3 separate regions of the Homo sapiens genome follow, and all the other regions are linked to region 2. Evidence: promoter capture Hi-C in human tissues and cell types (Jung and others, 2019). All regions are on one chromosome and are shown on one strand. The core of a region is centred on a gene start or on the middle of the fragment in contact, and the rest is flanking DNA. Distances in the headings are between cores, read along the strand shown. Region 1 has its middle 39 kb from the start of PKDCC. Region 2 holds the start of PKDCC (protein kinase domain containing, cytoplasmic). Region 3 holds the start of LOC105374517 (a long non-coding RNA gene).

Region 1 (3,630 bases), core at 803-3,302, 40 kb after region 2:
CCAGACTCAGACAGGAAGAGCACAGCCTTTGGCATTAGAGAGATCTGGACTCCAATTCTGACTCAGCCATTTGCTAGCTGTAAGACCCTAGCTAAATAATTTAACCTCTCTGAGTCTTGGTTTCCCCATTTATAAAAGGGAATAATAAAAGAACCTGTCTCATATGAGTGTGAGGATTAAATGAAATAATAGAACCAGAATGACTGCCATACAGGAAATGCTCAGTGTAGGCGATATAAGACAATTGATGCCAAAGGCAGCCTGGTGTGTGGGGCTAATTTTTTCTTTCTCTCCCTCTCTCCCTTCCTTCCTTTCTTCTCTCTTTCTCTCTTTCTTTTGACAGGGTCTCACTCTGTTACCTAGGCTGGAATGCAGTGGCATGATCATGGCTCTTTGCAGCCTTCACTTTTCCAGCTTAAGCAGAACTTTCTATCCCAAAGTGTGGGTGTGAGATTGAAAATGAAAGTGCTTGTGGCCAGGCACGGTGGCTTTCAGCTGTAATCTCAGCACTTTGGGAGGCTGAGGTGGATGGATTACCAGCCTGGCCAACATTGCAAAACCCTGTCTCTACTGAAAATACAAAAATTAGTCAGGCGTGGTGGTGGGCGCCTTTAGCCCCAGCTACTCGGGAGTCTGAGGCAGGAGGATTGCTTGAACCCGGGAGGCAGAGGTTGCAATGAGCCGAGATCGTGCCACTGGACTCCAGCCTGGGCGACAGAGCAAGACTCCATTTCAAAAAAAAAAAAAGAAAGTAAGTACCTGTGGTGCAGAAGCTCCTAGCGCAGTGCCCAGTGGGGGCACACATTTAATCTATTTGTTCACCTCCTCTCTGAATGTCCCCTCTGTTCTGCATAGCACTTGGGGTCCCCTTGGAGCCTGTCTTTCAGGCTTGTCCCTAGACAGCTTATGTCATGTGGCAGCCTGGCTCAGCGAGCAGCCCTGATTAGAGGGTTTTGAGCAAGGATGAGTGGAAGAAGGTCAGAGGAAGGGCAGGAAAACATGCCCTGAGGGGAGGCCTTGAGACCTTGGGTGTACTCAGAGGGGTGGTCTATCTGGCTGCTTTGCCCACTGGTCCTGCCTCTAGTCTGACACCCCAATGTCTGTATCTGCCACCCACCCAAAGCCAGTCTAAACCTCTCTGCCCCACTGACCCCAAAAAGGGGCCTTGTCTCTCCACTCCTTGGCCAATAATTCAGGCCCAAGCGGGCAGCCCCCCGCCATGGTCTTCCTTACCTGCATGTCTTCTCAATCTGACCGTAACCCTCTCCTCTCTTGATTCATCCCAGGCTTCAAGTTTTTCCCACACCTATTTAGCTCCCAACCCACCACCATCACACCACATTCTAATCCAAACCGACCACCCCATCCTCAGAATAGCCTTTCTGCCTCCCCCTCTGCCCCCTTCAGGGCTCTGACAAGGTTCCTGGGCCCCCTCTGAGATCTCTAGAGGACAGTGCCCTTCTGACTGGAGGAATACTTGCCATTCATTCCATTCTGGCGAGGGCAGAAGCCTCAGGCTGGAGCGTGTCCTATCCCCTCGCCTCAGGCCTCCAGACGCCCCTGAAGTGCCCTTCCATTTGCCCTTCTCCATCCCCCACTGAGGGCCGCACAGCTCTTGGGTACAGTGAGTTAGGTCTCGTCCCCACCTTTGTTTATGTAATCCTTCCCTGCAGTAACAAGGTGTTTACTGTTGCACAAACACATTTTGGTTTAATGGCTGACAGTAAAACTGTCTGATAAAGTTTGATTTAGCGAAAGAAAGCAAAATAAATCTGGGGGCACAGGGAGCTGTTGGGAGGAGAGTCTCCTAGGGCTTCTAGAGAAGGGGCAAGAGAGCATGGCCGGAGGGGCCCTTCTGCACTTCCCTAGCCACTCCTGCCTGTCTTTTAGCAACACCTCTGACAGCTCCACTTCAGGAAGCTGAGATCCCACTGAAGCTGTGAGCTCACGGCCCTGGCACTTTCTTGCCATAGCATTTGCTTTTGTCTGCCCTTGGGCATTGCCTCCATCCTTCAACCTCCAGTGTAACTTGTTCCTCCCCTGTAGAGCCTCCTGATTGCCTCAGCCCAGATGCAGCTGGCAGTGTGTCATGCGAGGGAGATCCCTAAACTAGAAGACCTGGGAACTAGATCTAGCTCTGGTATTTACTGGCAGTGTGGACTTAAGGAAGTCACATTGACTTTAGAGATCTCTGCTCCCTCTGCTGCAAAGGGGTATGCATGGAAAGTACTTGTTTTTTTTTTAAATTTTATTTTAAATTTTTTTTTGAGACGCAGTCTTGCTCTGTCACCCAGGCTGGAGTACAGTGGCGTGATCTTGGCTCACTGCAACCTCTGCCTCCCGGGTTCAAGTGATTCTCCTGCCTCAGCCTCCTGAGTAGCTGGGACTACAGGCGCCCGCCACCACGCCCAGCTCAGTTTTGTATTTTTAGTAGAAACGGAGCTTCACCATGTTGGCCAGGCTGGTCTCAAACTCCTGATCTCAAGTGATCCGCCTGCCTCGGCATCTCAAAGTGCTGTGATCAGAGGTGTGAGCCACCGTGCCTAGCCAAAGTACTTGGTTCTTAATAAAACCCTACCCACATTTAAGACACTGCTATCTTGCCTCCTCTGAAATCTCACGAAGCACATATTGGCTGTGAACTCCCTTGTACTCCACTGGCAAAGCAAGGCAGGGTGAGGATTTGTTCTTGTATGTGGGCGATGATTCTGCAGCCCGTTGCCAACTACTCTCTCTCCCTTCAGGGCTGTCTCCTATTCCTGATTTGTCACTATGGGACTGGGGCTGGAAAGTAGGTACCCACGTAATATTTCTGAATGTTTCATTGAAGTATAAACATATACAGAAAAGTTAAAAAATCATAAGACTACACCTTGATGAAATTTCACAAAGTGAACACACCCATGGGACCAGCACCCTGAAAATTTCTCCCACTTCTTCCCAGTTGATATCTGCTCGAGGGTGATCACTGTCTTGACTTCACCATAGATTAGTTCCACCTGGTTTTGTACTTTGTGTAAAGTAAAACTGCAGTTCTTTTATATTTGTTGCTGTGTAGTATTTCATTACATGAATATAACACCATTATTTATCCATATTGTTGATGAGTCTTTGGGTAGCTTTCAAGTTTTGTATTGTGAATAATGCTGCTATGAACACTCCTTTTTTAGGAGACAGAGTATCACTGTGTCGCCCAGGCTAGAGTGTATGAAACTCTTGTACATGTATTTTAACGAACACATTTCTTTTGGATGAATTCCTAGGATGGAACTGTTGGGTCAAAGGGTATGCACAGGCGCATCTTTAAAGATATTGCCAAGTAGTTTTCCAAAGAGGATGCGCCAATTTACTTTCCAGCCAATGTTTGGTATTGTCTGTCTTTTTCATTTTAGTCATTCTGGTGGGTGTGTAGTGGCATCTTATTGATGTTTTCATTTGTATTTCTTATTATTTAAAAAGTTGAGCACATTTTTATATGATTTTTGCCATATAGAGATGCTCTTTTATGAAGTGCTTTTTCAAGTCTTTTGCCCATATTGAGTAGTTTGTCTTTTTCTTATTAATTTGTAGAAGTTCTTCATATATTCTGGATCTGAGTCCTTTGCCATATATATTTGCAAATATCTCATC
Region 2 (3,805 bases), core at 417-2,916:
TTTCAGCTCTCGCCTGTGTCTCCAGTGAACAGGCGAGGCAGAGTCCCGTTGAGTAGGAACCTGAGCATTTGGCCTTCTCAACCTTCCAGCCTCTTGGCTATCTATATACACTCAGACAGTGTGACATTTAGATCCTCAGGCCGCCAGTCTGTCCACTGAGCTGAGACCTTCAGGCTTCTCCAGGGGCTCAAGGACCCACTTTAAGGCCTGGGGAACCCTTAGTTCACTTCTGGGAAGGACTGTGTTCCCTTTTTCTAGCCTGCTCCCCAGCCCCCTTCCAGTGTCTTCTGGGTGGCGCTGGAGGTGGGTGGGTGGGGAGACTCTATAGGAATCAAGCCTGACACATGGTCTCTTTCCAGCTCTTCCCAGCCCCACTGCTGTCCCGTCTCATTTTCAAAACCAGACAAATCACTGGAAGTTGGGAGAAGTTCCATCAAGAAGGGGGACTTTATCACACAGTTGGAATTCTGACTCAAGTGTCTTGGCTTAGGGTCATTTTGGCTTGGGGTAATATCCCTGGTGTTCAACCTCCTAACTCCAGCCCGGAGTAGAGTCCTAAATCCTAATGGACTGCCCCACCCCCTGAGTTTTGGGAGCCTCTGTCCTGGCCTGTCTTTAAGAGATGTGTGGAAGCCGAGAAACCCAGGAGTTCTCCGGTAAAGGGACGCCCACCCAGGAGTGAGAAGCAGGGTGGTGCAGTGGGAAGGGCCATGGTCCGGTTTCTGCGTCTAGCTTAGCCTGGGTGCAGTCACTGGCACTCCAGATCAAGGGGTTCTCTTCCAGCCAGGTTGACAAGGTCTTGGGCACTCCCAGCCAACACCGTTACCCCCGCGTCCCCACCCTCGTACCTGCAGCACGTTGGGGTGCCGCAGCCGCTCCAGCAGCACCATCTCCTTAAGCAGCTTGTGGGCCGCCAGCCGATAGCAGCCCCTCCGTACCCCGAACTCGCGCACGCAGCTGCCCAGATCGTGGCCGCTAAAGTCCACCGCCTTGAGCGCCACCGCGGCACCGCCGGGCAGGCGGACCCGGTACACGGCCTTGGTGTAGCCTGAGCCCATGTACTGCGCGCCGGACACGTTGCGAAGCGCGGCGCAGCCCAGGCGCGGGCCCGGGCCGGGGGAGCCTGGGCCGGGAGCCGGGGGCCAGCCTGGGGCGCCGTCGGACAGGGGCCGGGCCCAAGGGGGCCGGGGGCGCGGCAGGCCGGGCCCGCCCGGAGCCAGGTCCATCAGGCGCCGCCGCTCCGGCCGGCCCGCCCCGGGCCCGGGGCCCCCGCGGGAATAGCGCTGCACCTCCTCGTAGCGCGCCCGGATCTGCCGGGCCAGCTCCCCGCGGCCCCCGCGACGGCCCGGACCCGGGGCCGGCGAAGGCTCAGGGGACTGGCCTGGCCTCGGAGGCTCCGAGCCCGGAGCGAAGAGCACGTTGAGGACGGAGCCCAGCAGGAAGGAGGCGCAGAAACCCGCGGCCACTGCCGCCCGCCGGCGCCGCATCGCTCCCCTCCCCCCGGCCGGCCGGCCCCGCGCGGCTCCCCGGCCCCGGCCCCGGGCGGCTCAGGCTCCGAGGCGGCTCCGCTCTGCGCCCCGCCGGCCCCCTGCCCAGCCCGCGCGCATGGCCCCGGCGGCCCCGACCCCGGCCCCTCGCGGGCGACACATCGGCCTGACACTTGCCTCCCTGCCGCCCTGCCCCCGCCGCTTATAAGGCCCAGAGCCGCCCCCCGCCCCCGCCCCCGCCCCCTCCCCCGCCCCCTCCCCCGCCCCTCCGCCTCCACCTCCCAGCTCCCGGCCCGAGCCCGTCCTCGGCGCCGCCCCCTCCGGCCGCCCGGCCCGGCCTTCCCCGCTGACTGACAGCGGGACCTCCTCCCGCGGCCGTCCGGGCCTGGGAAGCGGCGCGGAGGCGGCTCCGGTCCTGCCCAGCCCGCGGTCCCGCCCAGCCCGCGGTCCCCCGAGCTCCGTCTGGGAGCGGGGGAGGGGGCGGCGGCGGCCAGGAGGCGCGCGGGGGCTCCGCGCCCAACGCGAGGGCGGATAACGGGGCCGGGGCGGCCGGATAACGGGATTGGGAGGTGGATAACGGAGCCGGCCGGGCGGAGTGGGGGAAAGATAAAGGGGCGAGGCCGGCGGGTAGCGGGCTCCGGAGGGGACGAGCAGCTAAGTCCGGGGTGCGGAGATCCGAGTGATCTCAGCGCTCCCTCCTGGGACTGGGGGCCTCGGGGCGGTTTGGGCGCAGGGAAGGCGCGTGGACCCCGTCTCTCGCGGGTGGGGCCGGGGGTGGCGGCTCCTCGCTCAGCCCCGGATTCCGGATTGGGGCGATGGTGAGGGGGAAGCGGGCACAGCCGGGCCAGCACCTGCGAGCGCGCGTGGGACAGGAGCTCTAGGCATAGAGGAATGCTCGTGAGCTCGCCGAGGATGCCCTGTTCAACTCCTTTTACCAAAGTGTTTCTGATTTTCCTTGCCTCTAAAGCCCCAAATGCAGCTGGGGGTCGCTCCCTACCCCTCAAGATGCCTGGGGTCTGACGGGGTCAGCCGCGTATAAGAAACCATGTGCATGCTAGTAGCTTGGGCAAAGAGTGCGTTTGTGCCCACGGACGGCTGTCTGTGGAGTGTGTGCCTCGGCGTGTCTGAAGGGGCCATTGTGTCCGATGAAGGGAATGTGTACCTTGTGTGTAAGTTGGTGCTGACGCCACCAGAACTTCGGTCCCTCCTCCTCCCTCCCTGATTGCATCATTAGTGCTAATTGAGGGGCTTTCACACGCCAGTGCACTAGCTGTTTGGAGTGAGCTCCCCCCTCCTGGGAGAGATAAGCCGCTGCCCCTCCCCCTCGCAGCTCTCCTCTTCCCCGCCACTCTGAAACTGCCCACCTAGATCCTCTCACCTTCCTGGGCAGCTTCCTGCCTCCCTCTGGGCCAGGTTAATCTCTGTCCTCCTCACAGTGTCAGGGATTGGCTGGGGAGGGGTCAGGGAGGAGAAGGGTCCACAGCCTTTTTTCTGGGGGTGGGGGTGGGTGGGGGGGTATCCAGGGAGGGGAGATTTTCCCTGAAGAGGTCTGGCGTTCCTACAGAATGCAGTGTCTGTGATGAGAAAGGGACAGGAATTTCTGCCCTGTTCCTTTGGACATGGAAGGACCGAGGAGAGAGCTGAGTCCCTGATCTCCAGCCTATGATCCCACTGAGGTGGGCCTTCCAGCCCGGACTCCTTGTTCTCTATGGCTTGGGGAGTTGGGGCCCAGTCCGACTTGGCAAGCATGGAAAGGCAGGGTGAAGGAAGCCATGATTCCTCCGAGAACACTGGGTCTGGTGGAGTCAGGTCTGTACCGATAGAGCTGTTCTGCCCCACTCTGGGCCGTGGCTGCAGTCTGCAGGGTGTAGGGGGAAGGCTCTGAGCAGATGCCCTCTCCGCAGCCTTGCACCAGATGTCTTTGGTCTAATTAACTGTGCTGGGAAAACCAACCTGGGTTTGTAAACAGAGCTACTGGCTAAAGTCAACAGGGAACAGCAGCAAACAGCAAACCATTCCCCTCACACTCAGCCTTGGTCCAATTCAGACCCCTGGGGAAAACGGGGAGCTGGGTGGATTAGGAGGCCCCCCCCGGCCCACAGCTGAATCAGGAAAAGCCTGTCTGCCTGTGTCACCCCAATATGGCTGCTAGTTCCTTATCAGTTCCATGTCTTCTTTTCTGGGGAGGAATGAGGATTTTGGGAGGAACAGTTGCCATCCCAAGATAGGCTCTGTCCTCCTTCCAGCAATTTCCCCATAGACATCTACCCAGCCAAACGTCTCAATCCGTGAGGGAGCTGTTGTGGGGGAATATTCCC
Region 3 (4,106 bases), core at 641-3,140, 60 kb after region 2:
ATGTGCACTTGTGCTGTAATTGTGTAAAAGCTCTTGAGGTGCTGCCTTGGACCCTTGGGTTGAATTCAGACTGCTTGCCTTCCCCCACCCCCACCCCATTTTCCTGTCCCAACCCGCTGTTTCTCCTTCTGGCCCTGATGGCTCCTGCCATTCTGCCTTTGGGCTTTGTGTCTCAGCCTCTGTTATTTCTCTTCTGTTTGATTGACAGCCCATTTTGGTGTCACATTTCTAGGCTGACCTCTGCCTTCTCCAGCAGAGTGCAACTCTGGGACTTACCCTGGGGCCTCACGCTCTGAGCCAGGCTCAGGAGCCCTCATTTACCCTACGGGCCACAGGCTGGGCACCCAGCACCAGCCTTCCAGGCTCAGGAGGAGGCTGAACAGTAAGAATTAAACATGCTGGTGTCTCTTTTAAAAATCTAGCTTCTCCCTTTGTATTCTCCTGTCTGTGACACAGTACCCCCTTCCTCTCTCTGCTTAGAACTGGCAATTATTCATCATTTATAAATTGAAGATAATCCCATTTCCTGATGACTCCTGCAGATCAGGGGTTGGAGGAGAAGAGTTTCTTAAGAACTTCCATCCCTGTCTACTATTCACAGAGGAAATAACTCAAATGCCTCTATTTCTCAACTATGAACTTCTAAGGTCTGGTTCTTTCCAAAGAGATTTCTGTGTATTAAATCCTTTCATAATGGCAGTAGTCTTCTATCAGATTTTAAACCCAAAGGACAATTGTTCCAGGTACATTTCAAGCTACATATGGCAGACAGCTGTCGGTCAAGACCACCAGACTGTGGGGCAGCAGCACTTCTCTCCCCAGAGACCATTCCTTTCTGTGTTTCCTTTGACCTGGGGTGAAGTTGGAATCGGAGCTAAAATTAGGGCTGAGAGGCAATCTAGGATTTATTGGAGTGGATGTTGGTGTTGAAGTTATTTTAGTTATTTTATTCAGGGTGAGCATCGGGTTAGGGAGGCTGGGGACTTGGATTCAGATTGCTATGGTATTAAAGCACAGTGGGTAAGGGTCCGGTAAGGTTAGGGTTAGGTTGGATTAGGGTTCCATGCAAGGCTGGGGTCAGTGTGTGGTTGCTGTTGGGGTCAGCATTAGGGCTGGATCAGGTGCTTTGCTGGACTGTTGGATGCTCATTGGTGGGGAAACTCCATCTGGGGATTTTGCCACCTGATAGGGTTTGGCTGTGTCCCCACCTAAATCTCACCTTGAACTGTAGTTCCCATAATCCCCAAGTCTTGTGGGAGGGATCTGGTGGGGGGTAATTTAATCATGGAAGCTGTTACCCTCATGCTGTTCTCGGGATAGTGAGTTCTCACAAGATCCGATGATTTTATAAGGTGCTTTCCCCCATTTTGCTTGGCATTCTCCTTCCTGCTACCATGTGAACAAGGAGGTGTTTGCTTCCCCTTCCCCCATGATTGTAAGTTTCCTGAGGCCTCCCTAGCCCTGTGGAACTGTGAGTCAATTAAGCCTCTTTCCTTTATAAATTACCCAGTCTCGGGCAGTTCTTTATAGCAGCATGAGAAAGGACTAACACACCACTCCTCAATGTACATTCTCATGGAGCCAAACCCTTGGTCCTGCCATGCAGTTTTAGGCTGAATGAGGCAAGGGCATGCTGTTTTCCCTCTGGGGTTTGGGGTTTAGGTGCCACGTATTAACTCGTGGGAAGCTTGGCAAGACCCATCCTTGGGGTTCATCTCTTCTGGCTCCCACAGAGGCAGGCAGGCGGGTGAAGGCAGCAGAGGGTTCAGATGTTTGTCTATCCTCCTCCACTGCCAGGAAGTTAGGGTAAGACTAAAGGACTTAGTCTCAGGATCTGAGGCACACAGTGGGCCTGCTGGGTCCCCGTGAGCGTTAATGGCCAGACACAAACTCCTCCTGTCCTTGTACCTGGTGCCCGGATGACCAGTTTGCTCTCTTCAAGCACTTTGAAGAAGTAGCTGAGAATGGCAATAAACTGATTCCGGTCCTCTGTCTCTGTGAAGGGCTAGACAGGCAGCATCTCAGTGCCTTTATGGGCTATTTCTGCAGAAGGACAGCAGGCAGACCCAGATAAAGAGCCCACATGCCCGCAGCCCATTGCCTACCACTGCAGACATCGCCATGGCCTGAATGCTGCCCCTTGGGCTTCTGCTCTTGCCAAGCCCACTGTTCCCCACACTCTAGTCACACCGATGCTACCCTAAGCACCAACCCCAGATGCCTCCATAGCTTTGTGGATGCCACTCATCAGCCTGGAATGTCCCCTCACATGCATCTACAGGGTCCCCTCATCTCCCAGATCCAGCCCTTGTGACACTGCATTGCATGTCTTTGTTTATGGATTAAATGTAGGGACAGTGTCTTGTTCATACCGTATCCCCAGAACCTGGCACAGGGACTGGAAGAGAGTGGATGCAAGGTCAATGTCAGTTAAAAGATGGAAGAGCAGGAAAGACCAGGCCCTCAGGCTAATGCAGTTACATGTATTTTATTAGGACTTAGGTCTTTTTATAGAGCATCTTCAGCTCCTCCATACTTCAAACATCTCTATGCATTTTTATTTGCTCCCGTTTTTTCACTAGTATTGAATTCAGTAAACCTAGCAAGTAACCATATCTAGGTGGTGTGGGAGTATGCAACACTCCAAAGTACATTACAGCTGCAAAGTTGGAAGCTTAAAATGCCTCCTCAACATCACTGACAAACAGAACACATAGATAGAGGGAACCTTTCCTATTTCCCCTAGCCATGCCTTGGCTTTCTGACGAAACTTGACTCCTAGTAAGTTTTATTTATTTATTTTCCTTTAAGAGCTAATATTTATTGTACCCTTAGTATACCTAGAAACTGTTTTAGGCTCTTTTCCCCCATGTATTAATTCATATAATCTGTTCAACAACCCTGTGAAATAAGTACAATTATTATACCTATTTTACAGATGAGGAAACTGAGGACCAGAGAAAACAACTAGTTTTCCAGAGCTCTCACCATTGGTATGTGGCAGAACAAGGATTCAAAGCTAGATGATGTGGCTCCATAGTCCATGCTCTTACTGTTCCTTTCTACTGCTTCCTAAAATATCTCTCAAATTCATGCCTCCTTTTCTCTTCCAGTAGATACCATTTAAACCCTCTTTTTTTGTATTTTTATTTCTATTATGTTCTGAATTGATCTCCCTAGGCATATTCCATCCTTTTTCTTTCTTTCTGGGCACTATAGTCAGGATGACCACTGTGAAAGGATAAATGTCATTCCCCTGTCCCCCGCCCCATTGTGGTGGCTTAGAGATGATGCCTGCAACATCTTCGACATTCTACACATGGGAGTTGGGTTCTAATTCCCTCCCTTGATCCGGGATCGCCTTACTGACTCGCTTGGCCAGTAGCACGCAGTGGAAGTCAATGTCTGGAACTTTCAAGGTAGGTCATACATGACTTTGAAGCTTCCACCCGGGTCTCTTGGGATCCTCCCTCTGAGCCACCTCGTAGAAAGTTTGACTAACCTATTTATAGCAACATACTGGAGAAGCCATTCACATCAGTAGTTCTAAATGAGTCTGGCCCCCCAGCCATCAAGGCACCAGAAATGTAAGCAAAGCCAGCTTCGACCCTCCAAACTAGACCATTTACCATCTGATGCCATCGAATGACCTTCATGGAGACCATAGAAGACATGAATTGCCTAGCTGATCCCTTCACAAATTACCAGCCCACAAAGTTGGGGGATAAAATACAATGGTTACTGTTTCAAGTTGTAAAATGTTGAGATGGTTTGTTGTGCAGTGGTAGATAACTGGAACTTCATTATTTTTTCTTTCTCTCTTTCTCTCTCTCTCTTTCTTTCTTTCTAACTGATACAAGTTTTTGATATCATCACAAGGGATACAGTCATGAGCAAAACATATTCAACCTTGCCCTCAGGGGCTCTGGCATTAAACAATAATACAAATAAATATATTCTTTAAAAGGTATAAGTCATCAGTGCTGCCAAAGTAAAAAGTGCCAAGAGAAACATTAATGGGGAGTCAAATTAGGTTTCCGTAAGGCAGTAATAGTTGAGCTGAGACTTGAAGGATTTAGTTGGATATAGGACTGGGGAAAGGGGTA

Evidence for each region. The method cuts DNA at HindIII sites, captures the fragments that hold promoters and counts their contacts. A contact is called where the count stands out against the background at its distance.
Region 1: a contact is called between a fragment that was not itself captured here and the fragment with the promoter of PKDCC in region 2, in 2 of the 25 tissues and cell types used here (heart right ventricle and neural progenitor cells).
Region 3: a contact is called between a fragment that was not itself captured here and the fragment with the promoter of PKDCC in region 2, in 2 of the 25 tissues and cell types used here (dorsolateral prefrontal cortex and pancreas).

The regions. Positions count from the first base shown.
Region 1 is chr2:42,006,768-42,010,397 of GRCh38, reverse strand. No RefSeq gene overlaps it. Among named protein-coding and RNA genes, the nearest start is that of PKDCC, 39 kb to the left of the region's middle. The HindIII fragment of the contact is 7,796 bases long and covers 1-3,630 here.
Region 2 is chr2:42,045,882-42,049,686 of GRCh38, reverse strand. It overlaps PKDCC (protein kinase domain containing, cytoplasmic), which reads right to left and starts at 1,666. Exons shown (of 7, transcript NM_138370.3): 1 at 849-1,666. The coding sequence starts at 1,487. RefSeq lists enhancers at 1-64, 778-1,037, 2,538-2,657, 2,281-2,785, 2,786-3,289 and silencers at 1,078-1,147, 1,278-1,377, 1,388-1,567, 1,718-1,967, 2,078-2,367. The HindIII fragment of the contact is 20,910 bases long and covers 1-3,805 here.
Region 3 is chr2:41,986,141-41,990,246 of GRCh38, reverse strand. It overlaps LOC105374517 (a long non-coding RNA gene), which reads left to right and starts at 1,567. Exons shown (of 3, transcript XR_940000.2): 1 at 1,567-2,993. RefSeq lists an enhancer at 1,939-2,108. The HindIII fragment of the contact is 4,472 bases long and covers 1-4,106 here.